Linked DNA regions of Homo sapiens: region 2 is linked to region 1. The links are contacts of gene promoters, found by promoter capture Hi-C in human tissues and cell types (Jung and others, 2019). All regions are on one chromosome and are shown on one strand. The core of a region is centred on a gene start or on the middle of the fragment in contact, and the rest is flanking DNA. Distances in the headings are between cores, read along the strand shown.

Evidence for each region. The method cuts DNA at HindIII sites, captures the fragments that hold promoters and counts their contacts. A contact is called where the count stands out against the background at its distance.
Region 2: a fragment that was not itself captured here is called in contact with the fragment with the promoter of GPRC5C in region 1 in 4 of the 25 tissues and cell types used here (H1 embryonic stem cells, dorsolateral prefrontal cortex, spleen and 1 more).

Annotation. Positions count from the first base shown.
Region 1 is chr17:74,430,704-74,434,133 of GRCh38, reverse strand. It overlaps GPRC5C (G protein-coupled receptor class C group 5 member C), which reads right to left and starts at 2,046. Exons shown (of 4, transcript NM_022036.4): 1 at 1,993-2,046. RefSeq lists a silencer at 3,034-3,173. The HindIII fragment of the contact is 9,677 bases long and covers 1,603-3,430 here.
Region 2 is chr17:74,298,110-74,301,610 of GRCh38, reverse strand. DNAI2 (dynein axonemal intermediate chain 2) reads right to left here. Exons shown (of 14, transcript NM_023036.6): 7 at 1,754-1,893; 8 at 443-565. Among named protein-coding and RNA genes, the nearest start is that of DNAI2, 26 kb to the right of the region's middle. The HindIII fragment of the contact is 3,967 bases long and covers 1-3,501 here.

The DNA of each region.
Region 1 (3,430 bases), core at 797-3,296:
AATCGCCTCCGAAATCGGCCTTTCCCCAGGCTCAGCCACCCTGCCCCCAGCTCTCCTGTGAGTCAGTGCAGTCCAGTTGCTGAACCTCCCTCCTCCCTCCTTCTCTCTCCAGGGGGCGCAGAGGCCTGGTGGGCTCAGAGGCTCAGAGGCCCAGAGGCCCAAGCAGCCCTGACTGGTTTCCCCCAGCAACAAGTGGCTTCATCCAGCAACCGGGGAGACAGCCAGGCCTTCTCACTTCTCCAGAGCAAAACTCCCTTCCTCGCTCCAGCATCATCCACACACAAGCCTGAGACCCCCTCCACCCACCAGGGCCAAGGATACCGCACTGGAAAGAGAGCTCCAGCGCGTCACAGGGCCAACCAAACTCAACACTGACCCATGGCCAATGGCTGTCTTCAAGGGTGCTGTGACCAGGGCACTCTTCAGGGAGGTTCCCCCAGGGATACCACAGAGCACTTGCCTTCCTCCCATCCCACACACTCAAGAGCCTATAGGGAAAGACGATGGCCCGACTGACAGCCTTCCTGCCTCCACTCCTATCGGTCTCTCCCAGTCCCTGGTTAGGTCCCACTGTCTCACCCCTCTGTGCAGGGCGCTCAGGCGTTTACCCCATCGATAAGAAGGCGCACAGGAGACGCCTGTGCCTGGAAGGAGCGGCCTCAGTGTGTAGGTTGGTGGGGGGTGGGTTGGGGTTCCTCGAACCTCAGCCTAGACACCCCACCCCTATCCCCCTGCCCCTGCCCCGCACCAAGACCAGGCATTTGGGCCAAAATGCCCTGAGCTCTCTGAGACTTGGAAATCTTCAAGGGTCTGCTCTGGAATGTCACTCTGGAATGCGCCCCACCCCCCAATGCACTCCCTCCCCCAGTCCAGTTGAAGGCACAGGGGTGGGGGGCCGGCGGGGAGAGGAAGCTCCAGGAGCACAAAACCCTACTTCCAACAGTCTCCTCTCCCGGGCTTTAGGATCTTGATCGTGGAGTTTGTAAGTGATTGGGTCTTCCAGCGTGTAACACTGCGGGCCTGGGGATGGAGGTGCAAAGGACGCTGGAAAAGCCAGCCGGGAGTGGGGGTTCGGGATCTAGGGGCCAGGCTACCAGAAGGGGAGGCGCTTTGATAGTCTGAATTTCCAAACTTCCCTCAGGGGGATTCTGAACCCTCTCGTCCCTACTTGGGTCGACGGTACTGGGGTCTACACCTGCGCTCCCTGGGTGGCTGGAATGGGGAGCAAGGGAACCAGTCACTCTCTCCCATTTTTAGGGCCACAGAAACCTGCCCTCCACATCCACAGTAGCAGGCGGCAGAGAGGACGCCACCCACGAGAGAGAGTGACCGCGGACTCCCACCGAGAGGCAGGCGGTGGAGGGGCTCCTCTTGGAGACCCCGATTATGGAGTGGTTTCCCCTCCCTCCAGCCCGAGCCGCAGCGCCGGGCTCCCCCACCCCCCCAGTCCCCAGCCGGCTCGGGTTTGAAAACTTTCAGCGACCGAGCGGAGTTGGCGCGGCGTCCCCAGCCCGCAGGATGTCCAGTCCCCCCGCCTCTGCCCTCGCCCACTCCCCGCCGTCCCGACCCGACTCTTCCGGGCGGCGGAGCGGGAAGGCAGCAGCCCTTACCTGGGACTCGCCGCCGGCCCCGCTCCAGCGCAGCGTTTGGGGCCAACTCCAGCCCCAGGCGGGGGGCGGGCGGGGGTGGGAGGGACGCGGCGCGGGGCGCTGGGCCAGGCCCGGTCCTGGCTGGGATGGCGGGGCCCGGGCCGGGACGCAGGGCCTGCCTCTCCCTGGGACCGAGGCTGAGCCAGGCGCGCTGGGTTGCTCGCTCTCGCGCGGGCCTGTCCCCAGGCAGGGCTCCTTGCTTTCGGCGAGGGTGGGCTGGAGCCTGCATCACCGTTACATCACCTCCATTCAGGGCGCTAATCGGGCGCCCGCCGCGCTCCAGGTACGTGCGCTCCGTTTACACAGGAACAAAGCCTGCCCGGCCCTCCCCGCCCCGACTCACCTCCAGGCTGAGCCGACTCGTACTTTCCGGCTGGTGAGGGAGATGGGAGTTTCTGGCCCTGCCGGCGTGTGGGTTGTTGCTGTTGACTGCCACGCCCCCGCATGCGGGCGCGCGCACACTCACGCGCACTCACTTTCTGGGCTCGGCCTTCGCCGGGGCAATTGGTGTGAGGGTGCAGCCCTGCGCACCCCCCACCGCGTCTTCCAGAGAGCGCGCCTACGGACACGCGCGGGGCTACCTTGGCGCGTCTCCGTGGGGGACACCTAGCCTTTGTCACCTTCGTCCTGGCCCTCCCGTGAGACACACTTCAGGCACAGTTCGCTGGGAGCGGGCCGGAGCGAGGCGCACACTCAAGACAGAGTCCGTCTTTGTCACGCCTTCTGCGCCCCCTCCCCTCCCCAGCTTGCACACGTGGACACACCGCACACCGAGGTTCGCCTTTTGCACGCACGGTCCTTCTCTGGGACCTCCACCAGTCACCAAGCGTACGTGGGATCGTCACCAAGCGCTCCTCTCACGCGTGGGCCGAGTCCAGACCACTCTGGACCGTGGGCAAAGGTCCCCCTCGGCCCGACTACCCCGCGCCCGGGTTTCCTGTGACCGTTCCAGGTTCTGCCCAACTCGGAGCGCGCTCTCCCCTCCCGGCGTCCCCGTTCCCTGCTCCGACTTGTCCTAATTAGCCTTCACGGTTTTGTTCCCCGAGGTACAGTGTTTAGCGCGACCCCCTGGGCCTCTGCGCTCCGGGACACGTTGGCTCTGACTCCGAGTCCGTCCTTTCCAGGAGGTCAGGTTCCCACCAGCCCCACCCCCCACTCCCTGTTCCGGGGTGGATCTGTGGGTTGCCACCCTTTCCCCTCCGGCCCCAGGAATCTGCTGAAGCTGGACCGCAGAAATTGGGAAGCGAATCCAGGCTGGTACTTATCCAGCCCGATAAACAAGAGATTTTCCGGCCGCCTTCCCCCGGGGCTGCTGGCCTCGCGGGGGGTGGGGTGCGCAGTCCTGGGGGCCCGCAGCGAGGCCTAGTTAGCCCGCGCCAGAGGCCCGTAGGGGCTGAGGCGCACAGAGGAGGGAGAGGTTGTTGGGCCTGGCCAGGGCCCTGGAGACGCGGAGGGAGGGCAGGGCGCCGAGTCTCGGGGTGCCGGTTCTCATGACGCCGAATTGCCTGGGGGATCGCCAGCGGTGCGCCGGTCGGAGCCAGCTGGTGGCGGGGCGGGCGGCCCGGAGTGTTTGCTCAACCCTGAGCGCCCGCGAGGGGGAGGGGAGGCAGCTGGTCACGGGCTAGGGGGTAGCAAGGTGGAGGAGCGGGGGCTGGGAAAGGGGAGGGTATCTCCCGGGCTGCTTGTTTGCGTGCCTGCCGCGGTCTACGACAACCGGGAGTCTAAACTCTATGAATCACCCGGAGTTGCTGGAGCGATAAACCTCAGGCTGGTTCCTCCCC
Region 2 (3,501 bases), core at 607-3,106, 130 kb after region 1:
TTGACCTCATTTTCCTCTCCAGTACCTCTTCCTTCCCCAGAGGAAGGCAGGTGACCAGCCTAGGGACCCCGTGCCAGGCAGGGCCAGGACCTGGGTTGGAGTCCAGGCCTCCCGATGTTGGTCCTGGGCGTGACCTTCCCCACAAAACAGGGCTTTTCTGGAATTGTTCTGTCAAAAGATTGCCCTCTGTGTTCAGCTGGGCCACTGGCCAAAAGATGACTTGGTGCCATGATGACTATGGTGTCCTTCTTCGAGAAGCTCTGCTGCCCCCTGCTGGAAAGTTGTTGTAAAGGCCACACACGTCTAGGATGGCTGCAGTGAGGGTGGCCTCCCTGGGCTGGTGCTGGGTTCCACGAGCACCTGATATCCTAGCAATGGCCTGTCTTTAGCCCTGGCTGCCCTGTCAATGCAAGTCGGGGAAGGGACAGCAAGGGACACTCACCAAAGTAGATTCGAACTCCAGGGAGATGGCCCCCAAGGCATTTTCCAACTGTTCCTTCTTGGTGATGTCCAAGATCACAACTTCAGTGGGCTCGCTCATCTTTCGGATGTCCCACCACATGACCTGGTGGGAGGAGGGGCGACAGTGAGACTTCGAGGCCCTGTATTTCCCCTGGCTTTTGCCTTCTCCGCCCTCACCCCACCGTCCTGGGGTCAGCCACTGGGCCACAAAGGATGGAGCTCCCGGCAATTCGTGGGAGCAAATACACTTTGAGGATTGCTGTTCTGTCCACAGTTCCCACACCTGGCTGATCATCAGAGTCGCCGGCAAGCTTCATACAACCCAGATGCTGAGGCCTCGCCCTCGACCTACTGAATCAAAACCTCCAGGTGCAAGGCCAAGAATCGGTATATGCCAAGACTCCCCACAATAAGGCAATATCCGGCAATGTTAAAAATGCATGTGTGCTCCGACCTAGAAGTCCCACTGCCAGCAATGTCTGCTGTAGATATATCCCCGCATGTGTGCAACAATCTGTGTATAAAGATGCTCTTTGCTGTATTTTTTGGGGGGTAGCAACAAAATATTAGAATCCATATATAAATTATGGTACACCCACATGATGCAGTTATTAATAGGCATGGGGCAGCGGTGTATGAAATATGAAACTATCTCCAAGGTACACACAATGGAAAACATCGAGTACAGAATAGTGTGTGAAGTGTGCAAAAAGAAAGAGTAAAGAAGAGAGAGGTGTGTTTCCTTGCATACGCAGAGACTAGCTCTGAAGGCAGACATAAGAGAGGGAGGGAGGGGAGGAGGTGCAGGCAGAGGTGAGAGGAAGGCATTTTCTTTTTTGCACCCTTTAGATTCTGTTCCGTGGGCATGTATTATCACTACTCAACTTAAAAATAAAGTGTTAGGCTGGGCGCAGTGGCTCATGCCTGTAATCCCACCACTTTGGGAGGCCAAGGCGGGTGGATCACCTGAGGTCAGAGTTCGAGACCAGCCTGGCCAACATAGTGAAGCACCATCTCTACTAAAAATAAAAAATTAACCAGGCATAGTGGCAGGCGCCTGTAATCCCAGCTACTTGGGAGGCTGAGGCAGGAGAATTGCTTGAACCCGGGAGGCAGAGGTTGCAGTGAACCAAGATCGTGCCATTGCACTCCAGCCTGGGCAACAAGAGTGAAACTCCATCTCAAAATAAAATGTGTTAAAGGAAATGTCCCCAGGGGTTCTGATGGGGAACCAGGGAACAGTTACTGCCCCTCCCTTCCCTCCTCTCTCCAGTGTCTGGCTGGTGGGTACCTGCCCATCCGTGGAAGCTGAGAAGCACTCGGTGCCCGTCTTCGACTGCAGCCAGATGGTGCCATACACAGGGTCTCGGTGGCTGGACTCAATGGTGGATAGCTCCGCCACCAGGCTGCCCTTTCGGGTGTCCCAGCAGGCTGGTGAGGAAGGAGATGAAGAAGGAGTGGAAGGGGGCACAGGCTTCCTTCCTTAGGGCAGGGAGCAGGGGAGAGAGGGGGCTGCTGCTTCTGGTTTGGCAGGTATGTGGTTTTCTAGAATCAGGGCTTGGTTCAAATCAGCCTGAGTTTCCTACCAGCCTCTACAGACTCTCTGGAGAGACTCCCAGAGTGCAAGCTTCATTCAGTTCCTTGAGCCCCTCCCAGGCATTGACTCCCTACCCAACACTTGGCCCTGGGCAAGCCTCTGGGGATAGGACAGGCATAGTGGCAGGGGAACACATGAGGGTGGTCAGGGAAGGCCTCCTGGAGGAAGTGACAGGTAGCTGAGATGGAAGATGAGCCTCAGGATGGAGGGAGCCAGGCGAGAGGAGAGCCGAGTCCCTAACGTAGGGAAAAGCACGTGGAAAGACTCCATTTAGGTGAATCTCTCTGCTACATTAGCCCATTTCCTCTTATCCTTTGTACCTCTGCTGCCTCTGTTGGAAAGAAACTCACAGAGGAGCTTTAGCCTTTACTGTGATCTGTTATTAGTGCTTTGCCAAGAAAGATGGAAAGGTTATCTGTCCTTTGTCCTGTTAGATTTCGTTTCCATTTTCCCATGAATGCACAATGAGGGCTCACCCTGTCACTCAGAGCTGTTTCTAGGAAAGGCCGTTTTGTAAAATAACAAAAGTACTTAGCTCGTAAGCTTTGACTTAGTATTTCTCCAAGTTCAAGGCATTTTCCCTGAACTCAGCTGGCCCAGAAATATGTTTTCTTAGATACGCCTGCTCAGCCAAGCACAGTGGCTCATGCTTGTAATCCTAGCGCATTAGGAGGCCGAGGCAAAAGGATTGCTTGAGCCCAGGAATCCAAGAGCAGCTTGGGCAACATAGTGAGACCCCGTCTCTACAAAAAATTTAAAACCTAGCTGGGCATGGTGGCACATGCTACTCGGGAGGCTGTTACTCGGGAGGCTGCCTGCTACTCGGGAGGCTGAGGTGGGAGAATTGCTTGAGCCTGGGAGGTTGAGGCTGCAGTGAGCCATGATCGTGCCACTACACCCCAGCCTGGGTGACAGAGCAAGACCCTGTCTCAAAAAATAAAAATAGGCCAGGCCTGGTGGCTCACACCTGTAATCCCAGCACTTTGGGAGGCTGAGGCAGGTGGATCACTTGTGGTCAGGAGTTCAAGACCAGCCTGGCCAACATGATGAAACCCCATCTTTACTAAAAACACAAAAAAATTAGCTGGGCGTGGTGGCAGGCACCTGTAATCCCAGCTTCTCAGGAGGCTGAGGCATGAGAATCACTCGCACCTGGGAGGCAGATGTTGCAGTGAGCTGAGATCATGCCATTGCACTCCAGCCTGGGCAACAAAGCAAGGCTGTCTCAAAAACAAAACAAAAAATAAAAATAAATAAAAATAAAAGATAAGCCTGTTCTACTTTGGCAAAGCAGTGCTCAAGAGTAGGTCCCACTGGGTCCCACATGGCCCTAGAGGGGCCCTTCTTGGAGCAGCGGAGCACCAGAGTCTGGGCTGGTATGAGCTGGCATGAAAAACCACTGAAAGAGGTTATGAATAATGACTGAGTCAAGGCTCTTGAAT